2 separate regions of the Homo sapiens genome follow, and region 2 is linked to region 1. Evidence: promoter capture Hi-C in 16 types of primary human blood cells and fetal thymus (Javierre and others, 2016). All regions are on one chromosome and are shown on one strand. The core of a region is centred on a gene start or on the middle of the fragment in contact, and the rest is flanking DNA. Distances in the headings are between cores, read along the strand shown.

The links. Contacts are between HindIII fragments. The CHiCAGO score rates a contact against its expected background, and 5 or more counts as called.
Region 2: a contact is called between a fragment that was not itself captured here and the fragment with the promoter of JAKMIP2 in region 1, in 5 of 17 cell types (megakaryocytes, fetal thymus, naive B cells and 2 more). The highest score is 7.3, in megakaryocytes.

What each region holds. Positions count from the first base shown.
Region 1 is chr5:147,779,545-147,784,800 of GRCh38, reverse strand. It overlaps JAKMIP2 (janus kinase and microtubule interacting protein 2), which reads left to right and starts at 2,073. Exons shown (of 22, transcript NM_001270941.2): 1 at 2,073-2,345. The HindIII fragment of the contact is 4,284 bases long and covers 1-2,500 here.
Region 2 is chr5:147,635,240-147,640,730 of GRCh38, reverse strand. It overlaps JAKMIP2 (janus kinase and microtubule interacting protein 2), which reads left to right. Exons shown (of 22, transcript NM_001270941.2): 9 at 1-27; 10 at 971-1,099; 11 at 3,683-3,766; 12 at 4,447-4,509. The region is part of intron 3 of JAKMIP2-AS1 (JAKMIP2 antisense RNA 1); the gene reads right to left. Among named protein-coding and RNA genes, the nearest start is that of JAKMIP2-AS1, 78 kb to the right of the region's middle. The HindIII fragment of the contact is 5,262 bases long and covers 35-5,296 here.

The sequences.
Region 1 (5,256 bases), core at 824-3,323:
CTAGTGTGTCATAACTTCTACAGCCTGCAGCTTCCTGGTCTGCTTACTTACAAGAACATCTCTGCAGAGAAAGCAGAAGATAAAATACAGGAATACAAAAAGAAGCGAGATGATCACATCCCATTCCTTTATGTTACACATTACACATAGGTGATGCTGACTTGGAAGTGTGTGCAGGTTGTGTGGCTGCTGAGACTTTGACAGAAGGCAGGGGACACTAGCTGCACAAAGGAGGTTGCAGGCTTTCCCACCAAGTGGATGGAAAGCCAGTGTCACGTGCTGGGGAACTGCTGCAACTCTTTCCTCATCACCTAGTTATCTTCAAGCCAGTTTTATTAGAAGAAGCCCCTGACATTAAGAGTGACACCATGCAGGAAAAAGTCTTCTCATGTTTTAATATTAGTTACTTACAAATGAGTAACAAGTAACTGTAGCTACATTTATTGAACATTTCCTATCTGCTAAAGACCGTACATTTTACACACGTCATCTAGTTTAATTTTTGTAATGACTCATGAGGTTCTGTGATTATTTCTTTTTACAGATGAAGAAACATAGATTTGAGGAAGTTAATAAATATGTTCCAGATTATACCTATAGTAAATACTGGCGCTAGGAATGGAGCCTAGATCGTCTGACTCTGGAACTTGTGTTAAACCCATTTGAACCTGTAAATAACTCTGTGGATTAAGAACAAAGATTATTTCCATTTTATGGAGGAGTGGCAGAAAAGTGTGGTGGTTAGGAGAGCAAATGTAAGTGTTAGAAGAGTCCATTTTGATTCCGGTTCTGTCGTTTATCAGTTGTGAATTTGGGAAATGTATCTAACTCCTCTGAGATTTACAATGTCCTCAAATATCAAGATGTAGAGAACACTTAATCTCTTAGGGCCTCTCTGTCTTTGCCATCATCATCATGGTTATTACGTACTTTGGATTTTCTCATCTTAATTTTTTCTCCTACCTGAAATTGCCATGTTATTCCCCTTAAACCCTTAGATTAAGAGATGGCTGCAATGTACTACTATGCTGCTAATAGTAAATATTTATTGTACACTTACTATATGCCAAGTGCTTTTAGTGCATTATCTCATTCAATCTTTACAACCCCTCCACGAGATAAATACTGGTGTCATCTATAATTTATAGTTAGAAACAGAACTCGCCTAGAACTGGACATTGCTGATTTCACTTCCCCCTTTTCCTGCCCACCACCCTGACTGCCAACTGACTTCGGAACTCCAAAAAGGCATCCATGAAAACGACAGGAATTGCCTGCAGGAAATTGAATGCTCCAGGAGTTTGACACTAAAAAGATTGGGAACTGTCCACCAACTTGTGCTACCGAGAATAGTGGTTGTTGAAAGGAATTTCGGTCTCTATCCAAACTTACTTTTCCTCAGGGATGTGTCAATTACCTCCAAGTCCTGTTCAGAAGGGTAGCTGGAAAAACAGTGAAACCAAGTAACTCACCTGAGAACAAGCCGGGAGTAGTGCAAAGGAATCAACCAGACTCTTAATTTATTACAAAGTCCAGCCACTCCGTTTGCTTTCTAAAAACCTTGTTGCCTGGTATTGAGTAAAAGATGCTATAAAGGACGAACACGTTTGGAAGTAATAATAATCTGCTATTATGCGACATAATTTTCTCCACATTTGTTGTTATTTTTCTGATAATAAATTTCATACTTTTTATTGGAAAACCACAGAAAATGCAAAAAATAGCTAAGCCGTTGGTATGTTTCTATCTAGATTTCAATTAAATTTTAATTATTCTCTCCCCGTGCCTAGCCCCCCTTGCCCCATTTTTAAAAAGACCTGGAGTTCAGGGTAGGAGACATCAAGAGCATCCTAGAGGGCAGCAGCACAAATTCACTCCCCTCCAGACCCTGCAGCTTGCTTCGCCCATCTCCCCTCCCCCTGAGCTTGGTCGCTTATCATTGGTCATTGCCATGGCAACCAGCAGCTGCCGGGCCAGCAGCCTCTACCGCAGCAGGGGTGGGGCACTGGGGGAGGGGGAGAGAGAGAGGAGGAGCCAGAGGAGGTGTCTGCTGCAAGTTCCTGGCTGCTTCCGAGCTCACCCCATCCTCCGAGAGGGAGGAGGCCCAACTGGTGATGCTGCTGCTGCTGCTGCTGCCGCCGCCGCCGCCTCTATTGCTGATACTCTAGTGGGGCTGGAAGGGTGGTTCCTATTCGCACCATCGCCAACCAGAGACAGAGGGAAAAAAAAAACCGGCAGCCACTGCTGATGTTGGGTTCGGAGGCTGCATCCGACTCGGTCACAAGGAAAATGGATTCAGTTTGCATCTCTCCCTCCTTTAAACAGCTTCTCCGGGTCTCAGCATGGTGAGTAGGAAACAGTAGGGCTCCCTTCTTGGTTTAGAGTGTTCTTATTTGACCTGTGTATACATTTCTGGCCTGAACTTGAACAATGACTCCCGTGCCTCAGACTAGAAGGGGGAGATGTGGAGACAGAGATGAGGATGGAGGGAGAGGAAGCTTGCCAGGAAGAGAGAAGTGAGAAGACAACCTCTTGTGTTTAAAAAAAAAAAATGGTGTTCTGATTTTATCTCTAACTGGCTCAGAATGCAGACTGAGCCACTTGGTGCCTTTTTTCCTAAGCTTAGCAACAGCATCAGGGGTTGGAAAAAGAGCTAACAACAAGAAGAGGGTGTTATTGAAAGGAATCATTTCATTTGCAGCTCTCACATACAGGGTTGGGCCTTCTTCAGAAATACATTTGGTGTCTCATAAGCTTACCAGACTCATTATAAGGTGGTTTTGCTTATTTTATTGATTGCTTAGAAAAAGTGGCCCCAGAATTTGACATTTTATTTTATATTCTAATATACTCTTGTTGAGAAATCATTTGCAAGACCCAGTTTTATTTTATACGTAGATTTGACTGTGAACTTACACATGTATATCTTATGGATATACAGATCATATATACACATGTCACTTAGCATTTATATTGCATTTATGAAGCATATTTATATGTAGGGTGTGCTTTGCAACCATTTTTATGGGTTACATATGTCCTTGCATGCCTGGAAGTAATTGCATGTTTTTGAAACTATGCTTCTGGTTTATATTATTATTCATTGGCTTTATTTGGATTAATGTGAAATTTACTCTGGTTATTGTCCCTTAGTTTCATTGTGACCGATTGGAACAGATGCCTATCGTTTGATCTGTGTCATAGAACTAGATGCAAATTTGTAGCCTGCCTCTTTATTTTTAATTGGGTTTGTGGGGGATGATATTGAGGACTCTGAATTTACAATGATGGGAATGGGAGGCGGTTTGTGGTATTATTTTGTGTCTAGCATCTTACCAAATCAATGTTGAAGCAAATCAGTTTTCTTGAAATGCCACCCCAACCTTTTCATGTTTGTGCCTTGTGTCCCAGGAAGCACAGCTAAGCTGGAAGGTGAAATGTATTCATTTTATTTAATAGTGCTGCTATCTGATGTTCATTCCTTCAGTATCCAGGAACCATTTCACAGTTCTCTCAGATGTTGTATTAAGGGTCTCCTTCTGTAAATAATTAAGTAGGAAAGTAGGATTGTTTTGAAAATCTAGGTATTCCCAAGCACCCTAGCCCAGCCGTTTCCAAATTAGTCTGCTTATACAATGAAATGAAACCAGAGAGTGAGCAAAGCGAGCAGGAGAATGTGTGGCTTGTAGCTGAAATGGGGGTCTATTGTAATTTACAAATGCTTACTGGGATCTGCTTGACCTTTTATTATGTCAAGGCTTTAAGGCAGTTCAGGAGACTAAAGATGCGTGAGATGAGGAGGTTCCATTCCCGCCCAGGATAATGGATTTCATTGAATTAAAGCCAGAAAAAATTATGTAGGTAAAGTGTATTAGTAATATTACATTTACCACATGGGCTATTATAGTTTTATCCATTATTCTCTTCTCTAACAATATCATTGTCAGTACAGACATTTTTTACAATGTAAAATAACAATTGTTTGGGTCTTTAGTCTTGCATCTGATTCTACATACACCCCCCACATTTATAATTTTCACATGTATTTGAACCAGGTTTATAGTTTAATTTTGCTGAGAATAATTGTTCTATTTGGTTTATACATGAGAAGGGCCCTTGGTGACTCAATTGTGCATGTGCTCATAGCATGTTATATATTATAGATCCATAGCTTTGTAAACTCATGCTACTTTGTGCCTAATTTTAACAACTATATGAAGTAGGGCAAGGAAAGAGGTACTGGGCTTGTATGTTATAACAAATTGTATAACACATTGCATCCTGAATCTTTTAGTGATAACACTTGACTTCCAAAAATTAAAATGTTAGATATGCCTATAGCACACTTAAAAAATTAAGATTTGTACTAGTTGACCCCATTTCATGCAATGAAAGCAGATATCCTGGGGCTTTGTTTTTGTTTCTTTTTTTTGAGTTTTCATTTGGAGGTGGTTTTATAGGCAAAGTTGGTACAGTTTGAACAGAGGCAAATCCCTTAGGCCATGTGCTTAAAACTCCTTGTAGATAGCCTGTTTCAGCTATGTGTCAGCTATTACCCTGATAGAAATACAGGTCTAGCTTTTGACCCCACTATTTAAGACAATTATATGGCCTTTGCTAAGGGGCCATAGAAAAGTGAAGTGTGTTTCAAGCACTAGAAGTTGAACTCTCTGAGGAAAGATTTTTAAAAGCTAGGATCATTTCATTTAGAGAAGAGAAAAATGAAATATGGCAATCGTTTGTTTCAGATAAGCTAAGCATGGGGCATAAGCACAGGACATTGCTTATTGCTATTTTTTGGAACCTCAAATGTAGTCAATGGGCTTCAACTTTATGAGGAATTATGAAGATGAGAAATATGCAAATGTAGAAGTTCCTCATAGTAAGTGTGAGTAGTCAACTGGCTAATCAGATAAAGCAATGAATTCTTCTCTCATCAAAACCTCCAAAAGTATGACCTAGATATGCATTTGTCTAGGATGTACTAGATTTCCTTCTCAAGAACTTCTCTTGCTTTTTCTAGAGTGAGTCATTTATTTGAGAGAGTACATTAGTTGTTTAAGATAAGACACTTCTAGGTTATAACAGTAAGACTCCATTTTGTAGTTGACTTCTAAATTACAGGTTCTAGGTATTTGTAAAGAAATCAGCTGATCATCTTCTTAGAGAAATTTACATGTAATCCTGCCAGAATTCAGGAAACTGAACATTTACCTGTTCATAAGAGCCCTTCTTTCTCAGCAGCTTTATGGAGTA
Region 2 (5,491 bases), core at 1,416-3,915, 140 kb after region 1:
GCTACTCCTGATGATGACTTGGATGAAGTAAGCTTTTCTACTTCTCTAGCCTAGGGTGATATTGTCACCAAATCTTTGATTTAAGGGGGAAGAAAAAGGATTTCACTTTTCATCTCCTTTATATAAACAGCACAAAGTGATCTCATAATAGTAAACAATTTTGAGGCTGCACTTTATTATCTCTTGAAAAATAGCTTCACTTATAGCAGGTAAACCTTTTAGAAATTTCTCTCCAGTTCAACTCTCTAATTTGAAGACTTCTTTCAAAATAAAAGTTACTTTCCAATATTCTTTATCTAGGGAAGGTAGGAACCCAAGAGGCCTTAGCAGGCTTTTGGATGTGGTCTGACACTGTTGAGTGAAGTGTGTTCTGTGGACCATCCTCATCAGAATGATCTAGAGGGCTCAGTTACAATGAAAAGTCCTGGACTCTACCATGCAACTCCTGACTCAGGATCTTAGGAGTGAAACACCCCAGTCTGCATTGTTTCCCAAAATTCCCTGCTGATTATGTTATGTCCTGAAGTTTAAGATGTAATGCAATAAAACAGATTTTATGATTTATCTGGGGGAAAAAACAAGTTGCTGGAGATGAACATACTGAAAAGAAATAAGAAAATTCTAGGGTATCATTTCCTCAAATTTAGGTCCAAAATCTGGATATGACTTTTTCTTATTTGGATCCAAAATTGACTACATTCTAAGCTCAAATGATTAACAATGAGAAATGTATCAAATGCTAAATGCTTCTTTTACTAAAATAAATATTTATGTATTTCTGCAGTGTCCATCTTGAAAGTATTACAGTATTTGTGCCCGTATATACACTTCAGAGCTAAAAATAAAATCAAATAGACTGTTAAACAACCTTTTACTTCTTGTAAAAAGTGGGCAAATGTTAATATTTCACATTGAAAACAGGACCTGAACATAACACAATTGTTTTGGGGCTTTTTTTCTTAACCTCAAGAGTTTAGCAGCTGAAGAATCTGAACTAAGATTTCGACAATTAACAAAAGAATATCAGGCCCTCCAAAGAGCATATGCCCTCCTACAGGAGCAGACGGGAGGCATCATCGACGCTGAACGAGAAGCCAAGGTTAGTGTGTATCTGTGAGAGTGCTCTGAATTAGCGTGCAGCAGTCACAGCATAAAAGCACTGTGGACATAAAAATATCAATAAGACAGCTTTCCCTGTATTCTTCTCTCCTCTGCAGCTTTTGAATTGTTATAGCTTTTATGTCAACAAACCTTGACTCTAGAAACATTAGAACCAGCTTAGATCAATGCTTTTGTTCTTTTAAAGATAGTTGAGTACATAGTTCTTGTTCTTGCTGTTTGAAAACATACATTTTCAAAGCTAGACAATATTGGATTTTGTTAAGCCATTTTTTAGTTTCTTGCTTAGAAAAAGAACTTTTTTATCTTTCAAAAGCAATAGTGAGCCAGTGTCTTCTCTTCGTTAATAAGTGCCCAGCGTTTACGTATGACAACTTACCAGAATTTTCACAGACACTATCTCATTTAACCCTTGAGACAGTCCCCTAAGGCAGATATTTTATAAAAGAGAAATTTGACACTCAGAGAGGTTAATTGAATTGCCCCAAATAGCACAAATAGTAAATGGCAAAGCTGATATTACAACTTAAGTCTTACTGGGTCAAATGTTCTTTCCTTTATATCATAACTGCCTCTCATGAGCCTATTTCAACAAAAAGAAAAGATAGACATGTACTATACTAATTCTTAATATTTATTGAGTGCTTGCTGTGTTCCAGGCATTGTGTTGAACATTTTACACACATTATCTATATAATCCTAAAACAACCCTAGGAGCTAGATATGATTATTATCTTCTTTCTATAGAAGAGGAAATAATAGCTTAGTAGAAGTTAAATGTAGTTTAGTGAAGTTAAATTATTTACCTAGGTTTACCTAGGTTTCCTAGCCTTGTGACTTCACAGTCATAATCACCAGGCTATAATTGCCTCCTAGGTAAATTTACATGAGCCAAAAGGCAGCATGACCACCGAGACCACCCAGTGATTTCATCCTACTTTCTTTCTGGAGGGTCTACAATGCACTGAGGAGTTTTGTAGAACTACTATTGTTCAGTGGGAAAGGGTAGATGTAACGCAGTTATACATTTTTCAACAGTAGCATGCACACACACATATATAAGTAAATAAGCAGGTTTTTAAAAAACACCAATTTAGAACAGGCAAGCAATCATTACAAAGGAATGTGCCTGTAGGCTGTCATATATATGCCCCAGTGCTATAATATTTGTGGTTAAGTGTTCTTACCAACATGGATTGGGGAATTAAAATAATAGCATATTATTTTATTTTTATTTTTTGGAGATTCCTCCAAAAAAAGGAGACTTCTTTTACTTTTTGGAGATTCCTCCCTGTGTCATTTAATTCTTCTACCTAAATAAAGGTTTAGCGTTCTCTCTGACCATTAAAGTCAGGAAAACTTACCATTCTTAGAAAAATAATCTACAAGAAATAAAGATGTTAGAAAAAGAACAACAGAGTAAATTTAAAGAGACTAGAAATTAAAAAATAATACAGATGAAAGCATCGTTGAAAACAAAAGATAAAATTAGGTACAAGAAAAAATAGGTTACAGTCAACATCAATTCACAGTTAAAATAAATCTTAGCAAAATTAATTATTTTTTGGACCTGATAGAGGTAAATGTAATATTTAACAATCAAAAGAATTATTCTCCTCACAATGAATAAGGATATCTTTCATCGCTGTTTTTATTCAACTTTGTACTAAAAAACCTATCCAGATTGTAAAACAACAACAAAAAAATGGGTTTACAGGCAGGAAACAAATTACTAAGCTAAATCACATAGGACAACAAAGTTGCTCCATACAAGATTAGTATTCAAAACTACTTACACACACAGACACACAAAATATGATATATAAAGAGAAAGACAGAGAGAAATTGATTTAGGGACTTAAATTTAGGCACAAAGTTTGCTCTGAAAGAATGGAAAGGCCGGGTGCACTTTGGGAGGCGGAGACGGGTGGATCATCTGAGGTCAGGAGTTCGAGACCAGCCAGGCCAACACGGTGAAACCCCATCTCTACTAAAAATACAAAAATTAGCTGGGCGTGGTGGCCGGTGCCTGTAATCCAAGCTATTTGGGAGGCTGAAGCGGGAGAATTGCTTGAACCCAGGAGGCGGAGGTTGCAGTAAGCTGAGATTGTGCCACTGCATTCCAGCCTGGGCAACAGAGTGAGACTCTGTCTCAAAAAAAAAAAAAAAAAAAATCAAAAGAATTTGGGGAGGCAAAATGGAACAAGGCTTTCATGAAAGAGAAATCATTCAAATAAAGAGAAGAGTGGAGAGTTACAAGGCATATTTAGGAAACAAGAATTATGCCAGCAGGTGAGGGTTTGGCTCTAGGCTGATGAGTAGTAGGAAAAGATTGGAAATATAATGGGAGTTCTCGAATGCCAAGCTAACGAGTTTGAATACTAACCTGAAAATAAAGAATGCTACAGGGAGTTTTAAACAAGAATTTAGATCAGAAAGATTCTTTTGTCATAGAAAATTCTTCTTTTTTTCCTCTCTCTCTCTCTTACTTGTTGAGTTCTAGTCAAGAAAGGTATTGAATAACCATTTTACTTGCTGAGTTCTGGAATTTTGGTTTCACCAGGCTCAAGAACAGCTCCAAGCAGAGGTGCTAAGGTATAAAGCCAAAATTGAAGACCTGGAAGCGACTCTGGCTCAGAAAGGGCAGGTAGGCATTTGGTTGCTAGCTCTTCTGCAGATGCAGACAATTCAATCTGACCTTCCTGTAGCTCACCTGTGCATGGGCCGCACCCAGGACACAGCTTGGCTCTCCACAGTGATCTTTCTCGAACTGCGTTAGAATGTTCAACTCTGTACTTCTGTCTCTGGTGTTTTTCTGGCCAGAGTATGAACCCAGCCACAACAGTGAATGAGCTTGGGCAAGAGAGAGAATGCCAGAGGAAGAGGAACCCTGTACAAATAGCCTAGAGTTGTCATAAGCTGCTAAGACCAAGACCCACCCCTCCAGCTGCGTTCTTTGCCTCTATGCTACATTTATGGTTCTGCATTTTAATGTTTTCCATCCATATGTATCTAGCCTGTGTGCATTCTGACCCTTTTCACTTTTTGCCTGTGTGGTCACTTCTGAGTCCCCAGAAGGCTGGTCCTGGATTATTCAAACTGGAAAAGGTAGAAATAGGGAGTGATGATGAAAAGGGGGTTAAATTTTCCCGGCAACTTTGGCCCCAATTTCTTTGAAGGAGCTGGCAGGGGTGGGTGCTACTTACCAGTCTTTGGCAGGCAAACAAACAGGGTGGGGAGAAGGCAGCTCTGGCAAAGTGGTTTGACAACACAGGCTCTTTCGTGCCACTCTGAAATGCTGACTGCGCGATATTCTTTGTCAAACAGGATTCACACTGGGTAGAAGATAAACAACTTTTCATTAAGAGAAACCAGGAGCTTTTAGAAAAGGTATGTTGGGCACAACACCCTAGCGGGGCAGAGGAGAAAATCATGAGAGATCCAGGAGCAGCAGGGGGTGCTCTCAGGAGTGGCACAGGGGCCAGGGGAAGGGGAGGCTTTTCCGGCACTGCTCTGTCCTCGGCTGCGTGCTCAACCGCATCCCTGTCACCGCCATCACCATCAGTGAAGTGGCACGTGTGCATGGCTCTGCGCTGGGCATTGTGCAGACTTGAAAGGATGTGATCCCTGAAACCTCCTGATTTGCTAACCATATACACTGTATATATACTGTACATATATATATACATACACGCACACACACACGTGCACATCCTGTGTAGTTGTTTATCTACAACAAAACCTCTATGAGGGCCAGGCACAGTGGCTCAAGCCTGTAATCCCAGTAATTTGGGAGGCCGAGGTGGGTGGATCACCTGAGGTCAGGAGTTTGAGACCAGCCTGGCCAACATGGTGAAACCCTGTCTCTGCTAAATACAAAAAATTAGGCAGATGTGGTGGCACATGCCTGTAATCCCAGATACTTAGGAGGCTGAGACAGGAGAATCATCTGAACCCAAGAGGCGGAGGTTGCAGTGAGCTGAGATTGCGCAATTGCACTCCAGCCCGGGCAACAAGAGCAAAACCCCATCTCCAAAAAACAAAACAAAACAAAACAAAGAAACCTCTATGAATAGAACTTGTTATTTTGTGAGAAGAAGTGACAGAGTATGACTCCAAGACCATGCCGAAACCTAGCATAGGCTTAGATTCCCACTTTTAGTCTTTTTATTAAGCTTGAGTCTTTCTTTTTTTTTTAATGAAAGATTTTTTTTAGATGAATACTGTTTTTAAAACATAAAACAGTATTCCTGGAAATTACTCAACAAATTAAGAAACAAAAACATGGCTTAGGCTTGAATAGATATAATTAATTTTGGTTATCTGAACATAGAGTCAATTAAACATAACACATTTTCAGTTCAAAGGTGGC